Linked DNA regions of Homo sapiens: region 1 is linked to region 2. The links are contacts of gene promoters, found by promoter capture Hi-C in blood cells and fetal thymus (Javierre and others, 2016). All regions are on one chromosome and are shown on one strand. The core of a region is centred on a gene start or on the middle of the fragment in contact, and the rest is flanking DNA. Distances in the headings are between cores, read along the strand shown. Region 1 overlaps TMEM254-AS1 (TMEM254 antisense RNA 1). Region 2 holds the start of GHITM (growth hormone inducible transmembrane protein).

Region 1 (6,779 bases), core at 2,441-4,940, 4.1 Mb before region 2:
AATCCATTTGTGTGACCTGGATGTCAGACAAGAACCCAAGTGCCTAGAGGACAGCTGCTGCCACCCTGACCCTCCACTGAGCTAGCTGGCACTTGGCCATCTCTGGACAGCAGAGCTGAAAGAGCATTGATTGTAATATACTTGGATGCTGCTGCGGGGCCCACACAGAGCCTGCTCCTGCCAGAGAGGAGCAACTAGCCAGTTCCAGCATTTGTTCGCTCCAGTTCCTGCACTCACTAGCATGCATGATCCCTCTTGCAAGGAGTGGACAGCTGCTGGCTCAATGAAACCAGCCACTCCAGTTCCCACCCATGAAAGGGGTCAAGGGAATTATCCCATCTCACATGAACTTGAAAAACATTTGACTAGTCTTTTTTTTTTTTTGATAAAGTATTTGATTTAAGCACTTTCATTTTTCTTTAAACCACTTAATGCAAGCTCTTTTATATCTTTTTAGTAGTAAAATATTATATACACAACACAGAAATACATAGACATATTAGGCATACCAATAGAAGTACAGCTTACAGATTCATAAGACCTATTTTTTTTTCCTTAGACTTTTAAATTCTTGATAACCCATTTTATTACCCTAGGCAGTTTTAGCTAAAGTACTAAATTTGCATATTAAAGGAAACAACTCAAGTGAAAAATCAATTAGCAAAATTTACATCTCAAGAGGAAAAGTCAGGTGTGCTAGAGTGAAGTTAAAATGAATTTAATTACCAATTAAAATTATATAAATCTACTATAAAAGCCTTTTAAATATATATACACACACATATACACACATACACACAAAAAATCCCATAGCTTTTACTTCTGAACTTTAGTCATGAGATAAATACAAATGCACTGGGTTGAAAAAAAAAAAAAGTTTAGATCAAAAAGTGGTTTTAGGCCAGGCACTGTGACTCATGCCTGTAATCCCAGCACTTTGGGAGGCCAAGGCGGTGGACCACCTGAGGTCAGGAGTTTGAGACAAGCCTGGCCAACATGGCAAAACCCCGTCTCTGCTAAAAATAAAAAAAATAGCCAGGCGTGGTGGTGGATGCCTGTAATCTCAGCTACTCGGGAGGCTGAGGAAGGAGAATCACTTAAACCCAGGAGGTGGAGGTTGCAGTGAGCTGAGACCGTGCCACTGCACTCTAGCCTGCATGATGGAGTGAGACTCCATCTCAAAAAAAAAAAAAACCAGTGATTTTTAATCTCAATAGAAAAGTAACAGCAGATGTAAGTCAGACAGAAAAGAAAACAAAGAAAAGGAGAACTTAGGAACTCTATAGTTTGCAGGTCAACCTTAGGTCTCTTTTTCCTTAATGTAAATGTGCACAAACACCATAATACTTCAATTTCACATAAACTCTAGTAAGTAGAGCCACCATAATACTGATGGAGTGCCCAAAGGGGGTCATTCTCCTTGTTTTCTCCTCATACTTAGATTATTTGTTTCCCAGTATTTTTTAAAGGAGGAACTGAGCTGTGGCCTAGGGCTTTTGTGGAATGGGTGGAAGTGTGCTGGTTGCAGGCAGGACTCCACGGTGTCACCCCTGAGTCATCGTTGCCCTCTTATGTGTCTCAATTTCTCTCTCTGAAGCTCTAGCACCTCTCAGAGGGCTCAAAACCTGGAGCTCCCATACGTGCTTCCTGGATGAGCCTTTTTAAAACTAATTTTGTTGGGGGTTCCCTGTAGGGCTGCTGCGCTACATGTCATGATGGGTGGGTGAACCTCACAGACACTCCCACAAGGCCCCTGGTCACCCAGGGGTGCCTTTCAGCTGGGAGGAGTAAAATGCCCTTTCTCTTTGGAGCTAAGGAAACTCAGACTCTCATTTACCTACGAAAGCAACAGTTCAGTTTCTCATTCCATATCTTATTTATCAAAAATTGTACAAGAGAAGATTATTTGTTTTCTTTTTTTTTGTTTTTTGTTTTTTGTTTTTTTTTTTGAGACAGAGTCTTGCTGTGTCCCCCAGGCTGGAGTGCAGTGGTGCAATCTCGGCTCACTGCAAGCTCCACCTCCTGGGTTCACACCATTCTCCTACCTCAGCCTCCCAAGTAGCTGGGACTACAGGCGCCCACCACCATGCCCGGCTAATTTTGGTATTTTTAGTAGAGACGGAGTTTCACTGCGTTAGCCAGGATGGTCTTGATCTCCTGACCTCGTGATCTGGCCGCCTCGGCCTCCCAAAGTGCTGGCATTACAGGCGTGAGCCAGCGTGCCCAGCCGAAGATTATTCTTTTTTAAAAAATCTAGGTAGATGTTTAATTTCCTGGTTGACAGTTGTTATTGTATTTTTTATTTTTATTGATTTATTTATTTAGAGACAGGAACTCACTCTGTCACCCAGGCTGGAGTGCAGTGGCATGATCTCAGCTCACTGCAACCTCTCCCTCCCAGATTCAAGTGATCCTCCCACCTCAGCCTTCCAAGTAGCTGGCACTACAGGCATGCACCAGCACACCTGGCTAATTTTTGCATTTTTAGTAGAGATGGGGTTTCACCATGTTGGCCAGGCTGGCCTCAAACTCCTGGTTTCAAGTGATCTGCCCACCTCGGCCACTCAAACTGCTGGGATTACAGACATAAACCACCACACGCAGCCCTGGTTGACAATTGGTTGAGTTTATCTAAATACCTGGGATCAAGAGAAAGGAATATCTGGGTTAAGGATTGTGGAGACTCAAGTTCTTATTTGCAGAGGAAGCTTTCAGGTAGTAGGCTTCAGAGAGAACAGGTTGTAAAATGTTTCTTATCAGACTTACAGTCTATGTTGATGTCAATGCCAGAAAGGTATAATGAGGCATGTCTGACTCCCACTTTCAGTCATGGCCTGAACCAGTCTCTCAGGTTACATTTTAAAAGAGCCCTGGCTGAGAAGAAAGTCCATTCAGATAGTTAGGGGGGGGCCTTAGAATATTATTTTTGGTTTATATTCATATTTCCAGAGCCTAGCACCATAACTGACACTACACTGGTCTTCAGAAATTAAATTTTATTACTATTTTATTTTATTTTATTATTTTTGAGATGGAGTCTTGCTTTGTCACCAGGCTGGAGTGCAGTGACGCAATCTTGGCTCACTGCAACCTGTGCCTCCCGGGTTCAAGTGATTCTCCCGCCTCAGCCTCCTGAGTAGCTGGGACTACAGGCACGCGCCACCACACCCAGCTAATTTTTGTATTTTTAGTAGAGGCGGGGTTTCACCACATTGGCCAGGATGGTCTCCATCTCTTGACCTCATGATCCGCCCGCCTCAGCCTCCCAAAGTCCTGGGATTACAGGCGTGAGCCACCGCGCCCAGCCGGTCTTCAGAAATATTTCTTGACTATTTGAGTGAATGATTCCTTGGTTTCCCTACCTAAAAAATGTAGCATTTTCCTTCTCCATTCTCATTATACTGTTTCAATAATTTTTCTTCTTCTCCTCCTTCCTTCCTTCCAATTTTACCTCCATCCAATGTACACAAGATATGTTCACTCCACTAGTTAAAACAAACAGAGCAGGTATGGTTGCTCATGCCTGTAATCCCAGCATTTTGGGAGGCCAAGGTGGGAGGATAGCTTGCGCTCAGGAGTTCAAAACCAGCCTGGGCTACATAGCGAGACCCTATCTCTATTAAAAATAATAATAATAATAATAATAATAATAATAATAATAATAATTAGCTCAGCATGGTGGCCCAAGCCTGACCTGTAGTCCCAGCAGTTTGGGAGGCTGAGGCAGGAGGATCACTTGAGCCCAGGAGTTCAAGACCAGCTGGGCAACATAGGGAGACTCGTCTCTACAAATAATAAATACATTAATTAAATAAAACAAACAGAATTTCACTGACTCACCTTGGCTAAGGGATCAAATCAAAACCCCTCGGTTTGATACCAAATGCCATTCATGATCAGGACTCCACCTGTCTTTGCAGCCTCAACTTCCTTCACTCAATTTCTTCACATTGTTTTTTTCTAGCAACAAAAAATTTCTCCTAATTCCCTGGACACACAATATTCTATTCAAATTTCTGTAAATTTGTTTAGGTCGCCCTTCCCCCATCCTATAATCCTGGGAAGGTGTGGGAGTTTTTTGCTGTATCTCAGCACTTGTCCATCCTATAGCCACCTCATCATAACTCCCCAAGGAGGACTACTTATTAATACCTCTGTATCTCTTGATACTGCATCATTTGTGTATTTGTGTTTGGGAGTGGACAGTATTATTTAAAATATTTTTTCTGGAATAGATAACTAATTGCCCCAAAATAATTTACTGAATAATCCATTATTCCTTCCTTAATTTGAAATGTTACCTTTATTATAAAATAAACGCTTGGATATGTATATACCAGATCCATGTCTGGAGTCTGCATTATTTTTTCATTGATCCATTTGTTGATTTCTGCATGTCAAGTGCCAAATGTTTTACATTATTATAGCTCTTTACAGTGTGTCTTGATATCTAGTAGGCCAATCTTATGAGGAAAAACAATGTTATTTTTGCTTTATTTTGCGTATCCCATAGGGCCATTAAGATTGAACCATCCTTTCATTTTGCTTGGTCTCAAGTTTTCTCTTTTGAGGATGCCCAATTCATATCCTTTAATCATTTGTCAATTACATATATTGGAGAATTCCTTCTTCCAGGTATTTCAACTTTATTTACAGTGTCATTCATATGAATGAAGCTTTTCATCTGGATGCAGTTAAATTTTCAATCTTTCCTTCTATGGCTTTTAATTTTAATAACTTGCTAAAAGGTTTCCTTCCCCTCCCTCAAAAGTTGTAAAACTATTCTCCCAGACTTTCTTCATTATTTTTCATATTTAGGTCACTAATCCATCTAGACAGGGGGATAAAAATGTCCAGGGATGAGATATTTCTCTGCCAATTCAGATGGGACAGCAGTGTAGGGTGCCTGGACCTTAGAGAATTCAGTCACCCCTGCCGTGTGTGAAGGGTGACTGTAATGAAGAAAGGAATGCCTTCTGAACATCCAGTTGACTGTAAGTTCTTCATGAATTTACATAAACTACTCACATCTGAACAAAGATCTTCTGGTACTGTCTTCTGGATTCCTTATCTGTGCGTGAGGGGCTAACAGTAAGATGTTTAGTGTTGAGCTGTTGGTGGCCAGGTACAGCCTCTAACTATAATCCCAGCACTTTGGGAGGCTGAGGTGGAAGGATTACTTAAGGCTGGGAGTTTGAGATCTGCCTGGGCAACATAGTGAAGCACCGTCTCTATTAAAAAAAAAAAAAATAGTGTGGAGTTGGAAGACATAGGACACTAAGTAACAGGCTGGGCTCCAAGCAGGGTTGTAGAAGACATGAAACTAAAACCTAGCTCCCTGTAGTCTGTTGACTGAAGCCATTTTGCCTCTCCAACATTTCTTGTAGCATGAATAATTTCTCCAATATCTCCCTCGTTGCAGATTTAATACCTAAATAGAAATACTGAAAAACGGCAGCCTAAAATTGGGGAAGTTCTTGAAACTTTTGGTAAGGTAGGCTGGGTATGGTGGCTCACACCTGTAATCTCAGCACTTGGGGAAGCCAAGGCAGGTGGATCACCTGAGGTCAGGAGTTTGAGACCAGCCTGGTCAACATGGCGAAACCCCATCTCTACTAAAAATACAAAAAATTAGCTGGGTGTGGTGGCATGTGACTGTAGTCCCAGCTACTAGAGAGAGTGTGGCAGGAGAATCACTTGAACCCAGAAGGCCAAGGTTGCAGTGAGCTGAGATTGCGCCATTGCACTACAATCTGAGCAATAGAGTGAGACTCTGTCTCAAAAAAAAAAAAAAGTTTTGGTATGGTAAAGGCTTGATCAGAACTGTACTTGAAAAAGATGATCCTGTTATTTGTCAGACAGATTCAATAAAGGGACTGCATGTGGGCTGAAGTGGCAGGAAGTAGGAAGGAGTGACTGACTCATGAGACAGTGGAGATGAAGCCATGATTTAATCTAGAAGGATTAGATATTGTATTACCCAATCAGTAGAACTCTTGACAGCTGATTAGTCTGCAATCTTTATATGATATGGGGGAAGTCAAAGCAAGGAATCTGGGTACAAGGTAGAAAGAAAGTGCTGTTCACATAGAGTAGGCCGGGCGAGGTGGCTCATACTTGTAATCCCAACACTTTGGGAGGCCGAGGCAGGCAGATCACCTGAGGTCAGGAGTTCGAGACCAGCCTGGCCAACATGGTGAAACCCCGTCTCCACAATTAGCCAAGCGTGGTGGTGCACACCTGTAATCCAAGCTACTCAGGAGGCTGAGACAGGGGAATCACTTGAAGTGGGGAGGCAGAGGTTGCAGTGAGCCGAGATCGCAACACTGCACTCCAGCCTGGGCAACAAGAGCAAAACTCCATCTCAAAAAAAAAAAAAAAAAAAAAAAAAACCACAGACAGGGTAGCCTTGGTGAGGATGGACTCTGTGGATAATGATAATGGACTTCTTGTCTTTGAGGTGTGAGTAATCTTTGGTAAAGGTGACCAACTGGGAAGAGGTGAGGGCTGAAGAGATTATTTTAGTCAGCTGAAGGTGAAAATTGAATCTGATAGGTACTGAAAACACAAAGAAGATAATAAGCAAAACTTATTCTAGGAGAGAAGAAAGAAAAGGAAAGCTGAGAAAACAAGGAGTTATTCAGAAGGAGGAGAAGAATAAAGAGGGTGGTGTGATCAAGGATGATAAGGACTAAGAAAACACCAATTGTTACAATTGTTACTGTTAATCTTGATATTCAAGAGCACTGTGGTCTACCTGGGAAATGGATTTCCTCACA
Region 2 (6,638 bases), core at 3,068-5,567:
TTTTGCCTCCATCGCATGTTCTAGACCCAGATCTACCATTTACCTTGCTATGTTTTTGATATAGTTTGTATATTTGTCCCCACCCAAATCTCATGTTGAACTATAATTCCCGTTATTGGAGGAGGGGCCTGGACAGAAGTGACTGGATCATGGGAGTGGATTTCTCTTGAATGGATTAGCACTATCCCCTTGGTGCTGTCCTTGAGATAGTGAGTTCTCAGGAGATCTGGTCATTTAAAAGTGTTTGGCCCTTCCCCGCCAACTCTCTCTCTCTTGCTCTTCCTTTTGCCATGTGATGTACCTGCCCCTCTTTGCCTTCTGCCATGATTGGAAGCTTCCTGAAGCCTCCCCAGAATCAGATGCCACTATGCTTCCTGTATAGCCTGCAGAATCATGGGCCAATTAAACCTCTTTTCTTATAAAATACCCAGCCTCGGGTATTTCTTTATAGCAGTGCAAGAACAACCTAATACCTTTTTCTTAAGAAAAGCTACTACAATTTCTGAGTGTTGGTTTCCTCTTGGAAGACTGACCAGAAAGCATGACACTAGTCTCAATTTTCTGCCAATATCTGTCCCTCCACAGATACTACCCCACTAATGACCTTGTCCTTTGGCCCACTTACAGCATTTAGTTGCACATATGTGAGGGGTATATATTGTCAGTTAGGTGAATGCAAAATTGAGCTACATTTTTCTTTAAACTGCCATCGATGTCATTTTCAAGGCCCCAGTCAGTTTAGAGCAGACAGCCTATTTATTCCATTTTGCAAGCTCAGAACAGTCTGACAATTTGTCTGTCAGTTTCAGGATTTATTACCATCAGTCACATTGGAGTTCAAAGTCCTTTCTCCTCTCCTGGGCCACAACTGGATTAGAAACATTTACATTAAACAGGAGGGGAAAAAGTGTAGCTTCTCTGTCCTTCCACTCTACCTCTTAGTCATTGCATTGTCATGCAGCTGCCGTTCAGCAAAATCTAAAGGGAGTAGTCCCCATGGCTTCATTGTCTTTCTGTGGCTGGCAGGATATAACTTTTGAAGTTGGCACAGTTTGATCTCTCACCCAAGCAGAGTCAAATGGCTCTGCCTTGTCATACACTAAATGGTCTGTTGGTGCCCATCTGGGCATCTCACCCACACATACTTCTAGTGTCGCCTCACTACTGAGCAGCATCTCGAAGGGTGCAAACAAGCAGGTGCGTGCTCACAATCACATTCTTGTGTTTATCTAGACCTTAGGGATTCCAAGGGAAAACAAGGCCAAGATGGGGAAGATCTTGTAACTTTCCTACCTGCTCTGTTGTCTGCCACTTAGCAACCACATGAGAAGCAGGTGCCAATTGGTCCCTACATTCAGAAACATCTGCAACCTTTCAGGAAGAAGCACCTTCCCTTTGTTGGGAGACTCCATCAGGGAGGGCAGAGGTTAAAGCCCCAGCAAACTCCCTTTCCAACTCTGTTTCATTCATACCACATCTTCTGATGGGAAAGCATAGTAGGGCAAGGTGAGAGCATTTATTTTAACTGAAAGTAAATAAAATATTTTATCTTTTGTCCTGGCTCTGAGTTTTCTCCACTATAATGCAGCATATCTCACTTAGCCAGCAAGTGGAGAATAAGGAATTCATCAGCAGACTGTAATAAAAACCGTGACATATATATAGTATTGGAATTTACGAATCATGTCTTTTCCTTTTTATTTACTTATTTATTCTTTTATTTTTTATTTTTTATTTTTTTGAAGTGGAGTCTCGCTCTGTTGCCCAGGCTGGAATGCAGTGGCACGATCTCGGCTCACTGCAAGCTCCACCTCCTGGGTTCATGCCATTCTCCTGCCTCAGCCTCCCGAGCAGCTGGGACTACAGGTGCCCACCGCCATGCTCTGCTAATTTTTTTTTTTTTTTTTTTTTTTTTTGGTATTTTTAGTAGAGACGGGGTTTCACCATGTTAGCCAGGATGGTCTCAATCTCCTGACCTTGTGATCTACCCGCCTCGGCCTCCCAAAGTGCTGGGATTACAGGCGTGAGCCACCACACACAGCCTACTTATTTATTTTTAAAGACAGCATCACCCTATGTTGCCCAGGCCGGCCTTAAGCTCCTGGGCTACCTCCCCAGTAACTGGGACTACATGCATGTGCCACCATTCCCGGCTTGTCCTTTTCTCTATCCTACACTCTAAGAACTTAGAAGCAGAGAACTTAACAATTAAACACTTCAAACTAAGTTTTATGTATCTACTTCCCCTCACTTGTATCTCTCCCTGTATCCTATTGCTAAATTAATGATAAAATTATCCACCCAGTTCAGAAGGATTACTCAGGGAGCCTTCCTCATTCTTATCAGCTATATTTGACCGACCATTCAATCCTGCAAACTCCACTTCAGCAATATATCTCTGTCATAAACCCCTCTGTGTCTTTCTACTGGCTTAATTCCAGCCTTTATTGCCTTTTGGTTGAACAACTACAATAAATTCCTAATTGGTCTCCTGGTCCATGGAACCTCTCCCTTCCTACACTGCCACAAGAGCATATATTTCCCAATGATATGACCAGATTCCTCCCCTGCTTCAAAATATTTGACCCCTGTGGAAACAACAATACAAGCCCTTTACTTGAGAAAGGAAAATATGAAATCAGACATTTTTCTTCCAATATGGAGAGAATAAGCTTTAATAGGAATCTTGAAGAAAGCTTGAGTCATTGACTTCAAGATCTTTATTCTGGTACTGTGTTGTAAATCCTTTCTCTTTGCTGATAACAGAAGCTCTAGAAAAAAAGACTATCACTGAAGGAGCCAAACAGAAAACCTATTTGCTAGCTAATAAAATTGGGCATAGATCAAAATAAAAATTAAACTGATCATGCTTGATCTGTTCAGTTTCGTGAGATTTCTCTAGTGTTTTCCTGCCATTTTCAGCGTAAAGAGATAAGAATTGTGTTGCTGCCAGACTCTTTTATTATCCACATAGAAGGCAAGTCTTTATATTTGTCAAGGTTTACATGATTAGGAATCATAAATCACAATTAACTACTGCTTAGGAGATAAAGGTTCATGAATTTTGCATGTTGTTAATCACCTTATCACCCTTTCAGGGTTTTAATCTGCTCTTTCTTCATGGTATTAAGTTATCACATTATATTTTTTCTATGTTCTGTCTCTACCAGAAAGTAAAGCCACAGAGCAAGGACTTTATTTTGTTAAAATAGTGGTAGCACACACGGGTTTAATTCATTTGCTGTTTTTTTGTTTTTGTTTTTTTGGTTTCTTTTTTTTTTGAGACTGAGTCTCCCTCTATCGCCCAGGCTGGAGTGCAGTTGCGGGATCTGGGCTCACTGGAACCTCCGCCTCCTGGGTTCAAGTGATTCTCCTGCCTTAGCTTCCCAAGTAGCTTAGATTACAGGCACCAATCACGCCTGGCAAATTTTTGTATTTTTAGTAGAGACAGGGTTTCCCCACGTTGGCCAGGCTGGTCTCGAACTCCTAACCTCAAGTGATCCACCCGCCGCGGCCTCCCAAAGTACTGGGATTACAGGCTTGAGCCACCACGCCCGGCTGATTCATTTGTATATATTTCTAGAACAGAGCTTGGTACGAAGTTGAGCATTCAGTAAATATCTGTTGAAATAGAGGGAGAGTGAAAAAGAAAGTAACTCTCTCGCGTATTCCACAACTAGCTCTTCACCTATCAAATTACGCGCAATGGAAACATCTTAGTCCTCAGAGCAATCCTGGGTGCAAGGCAGAGGCGGCTGTTATCAGGCCTATTACACAGGTTTAGGGTGAAACTTGAAAATGTGGGCGGGAAAGTCACAAAGCAATGAAAAAACCATCTAGAAAAAATCTTTTCTGGATGTCACCATCTAACATTTGGCATGAGACCCCAGAAACCGGATGACTCGGCTCAGAAGCAGACACATTTGAAAAGATATTTATCTCACGATAAATTAAGGGACAAAAAGGCCTTCAAAAAGGAACGGAATAAACGGAATAATTTTTAACTCTAACATTACTTTCTTTCAATTTTTACATAATTCTTATAGCTGCGGCGAGTGAAACGACTAAAACAAAAGCAAAACAGAGCTCCACTGCCCAAAACAAAGATGGCCGAGACGACTCCCATGCCCACACGCAAAATGGACGCTGACTATGACGTTCCCTGCAACAATCCTCAACTGGCCCCGCCCCACCAATTTGGAACCCCGCCTCCTCAACCCGGAACCCCGCCTCCCCCAGTGTGGCCGCTTTTCCGACAGAGGCCTGCCCGTGATTGGCTGCTCGTACTATTTACGTCCTTTCGATGTTGCGTCATGCAGTGCGCCGGAGGAACTGTGCTCTTTGAGGCCGACGCTAGGGGCCCGGAAGGGAAACTGCGAGGCGAAGGTGACCGGGGACCGAGGTACTGCTCCGGCTGGCCGGCGGGCGCCCGGGATCCCCGGTGGTCCTGACAGCCGCCCTCACGGGACCGCTGGGTGCGGGGGGAAGGGCTGGAAGCAGCGGTGCTGCTGGCTGCGTCAGGGCCGGCCTGCGCGTTGGGGTCGCAGTCCTGTGGGTGACCTGGTGGAGAGGGCGGCGGCACAAGGCCCTGGTCAGGCGGGCAAGGGCTCAGTGTAGCTGTGCTTCTGTCCTCGGGCAACAAGGTGCTGAGTCATCCTTGCGGCGAGGCCGTACAGCCGCTGCGCTGGTAGCGGCACCTGGGGCAGGGGCAGAGGTGTTGTGGGTTGACAGGGAAGTTTGCTGCCGGGTTCTCATCTGAATCTAGCGGGCTGGGTGAACTTTCTCGGGGACCAGGCACCCAAACTCATCAATGCTCACGGAGGCATAAGCCCTTGGATTAGGGTCGGTAGTATTTTCCCCATTTTATAGCAACGACATCTGAGTCTTAGAGATCCACACTCCTCACAAGGTCACTTCTAACCTGTCAGAAGCGGGATTCCCACTCTGGGCTGTTACGCCACATGGAGGTCACTCTGAGCTGGACCTCTTCGGCCCCAACCAGTGGACTGAGTACTGAGGAAGATACAGGACAGCCATAGGTTGAGATGATGTAATGGCACGAAAGTTCCAAAAGCGCTGGGTGTTTTCCCAAAGGCCGGGTGCCGAATTTTAAGACCCTTAATAGTTCAGTTGCAGAGCTCGGAGGACGCTCGGGTATCTTAAAGCAATAGTTCTTAGCTTTTGGAGTGTTCGTTAAAACACACGTTCTTGGTCTTATTCCTAGGGGTAGAATCATTAGGAGCAAAGAAAGACCCAGGAGCCTACATTTTAAGATGCATCCGGGGCACTTTCAAGCAGGTAGTCTAAGGGTCAACGCTGTAGTCTGAACACGGAATCCTTATGTTACAGATGGGGAAATGGGCCCAGAAGTATATCACTTGCCTAGAATTCACTACAAATCATTGGCAGAGATGGGCTGGTAGCCCCAGTTGGTTTACACTCGTCATTTCATTCTGACCTATTGTAGTCACCTCACCTTAGCATTACAGAAACACTGTCTGCTGACTTCTGGTTGACCACCCATCTAGTATAATGTGCCCTGGAGCTAAGATAATCCAGTTTTTAGCATGCTTTTCTTTTGAAGACACCATCGAGGGAGTCTAATGTAAGGGAAACCTGGTTGGTAACTGAGTTTACTTGTTTACTTTGAAAGACTAAATGTCCTTTACGCATTATAGTAGGACATATAGAATAGGTTAACTTAGAATATTTTTATATCTCATGTTGAAGGAAAGTAATATTTGGTATGATTAGCTGAAATTCATATAGTTGGCTTCTTTTAATACCTTTTAGCTTTGTAATGCAGTATAACCTTGAAGAGCTATTCATGTCTTCTTTGGATGACACTATTCCTTTGCCCAAAAGTTATGTAGATTCTTTTAAATTTTCCCACTGGATGCTGGTATAAATCTTAAGCCAAAACTACATTTGTAAAAACCATCACAGACTCTGTAATCACGTCCAGTTATTAACAGCCGTTCTGTGTTACACATAATTTTTGCAGTCATCTATTTTGATTGGTCAAACTGGGACTTAAACCTAGTTTGTTCCTCCATCTTCAGCTGTGTTCTCTGGGATGGGTTTCTTGCATTACAGTGGATGGTTGGGCAAAGAATTCATCGCTGAAAATTAAAAAGGTCGCTTTATTTCCTGTTCTACTAAAAAATAGTTTGTTCCTTGACTCTGACTCTCATATGTCCTTCTCTTAATTGGTTAGTAGGTTGTTTTACTTATGTTTTTTTGGTTGGTTTTGCCTTTTTTTTAAACTAGCATTTCAGATCTGCTCGGTAGACCTGGTGCACCACCACCATGTTGGCTGCAAGGCTGGTGTGTCTCCGGACACTACCTTCTAGGGTTTTCCACCCAGCTTTCACCAAGGCCTCCCCTGTTGTGAAGAATTCCATCACGAAGAATCAATGGCTGTTAACACCTAGCAGGGTAAAGATAATCTGAATGTTTTTATATTGCTTCTTTTTCCATTTGTGCCCTTTCTTTTTGGCAGAGTATGGCTGCTCTGCCTTTAGTGTGTTATACGTCAGTTAGCCCTGATAATATCCCCAATCAGCTCTTTCTCCCCATTAGTTTGTATCATTCTGGTCCCTCCTTATCCCATATGAAATAGAAAATGAGTTTCTGTA

Evidence for each region. The method cuts DNA at HindIII sites, captures the fragments that hold promoters and counts their contacts. A CHiCAGO score of 5 or more calls a contact.
Region 1: a contact is called between a fragment that was not itself captured here and the fragment with the promoter of GHITM in region 2, in 1 of 17 cell types (naive CD8 T cells). The highest score is 7.3, in naive CD8 T cells.

What each region holds. Positions count from the first base shown.
Region 1 is chr10:80,070,115-80,076,893 of GRCh38, forward strand. All of the region lies in intron 1 of TMEM254-AS1 (TMEM254 antisense RNA 1), which reads right to left. Among named protein-coding and RNA genes, the nearest start is that of TMEM254, 5.2 kb to the right of the region's middle. The HindIII fragment of the contact is 1,968 bases long and covers 2,707-4,674 here.
Region 2 is chr10:84,135,192-84,141,829 of GRCh38, forward strand. GHITM (growth hormone inducible transmembrane protein) reads left to right here and starts at 4,318. Exons shown (of 9, transcript NM_014394.3): 1 at 4,318-4,402; 2 at 6,271-6,438. The coding sequence starts at 6,310. RefSeq lists enhancers at 3,686-4,255, 4,256-4,825 and a silencer at 4,399-4,598. The HindIII fragment of the contact is 9,095 bases long and covers 2,695-6,638 here.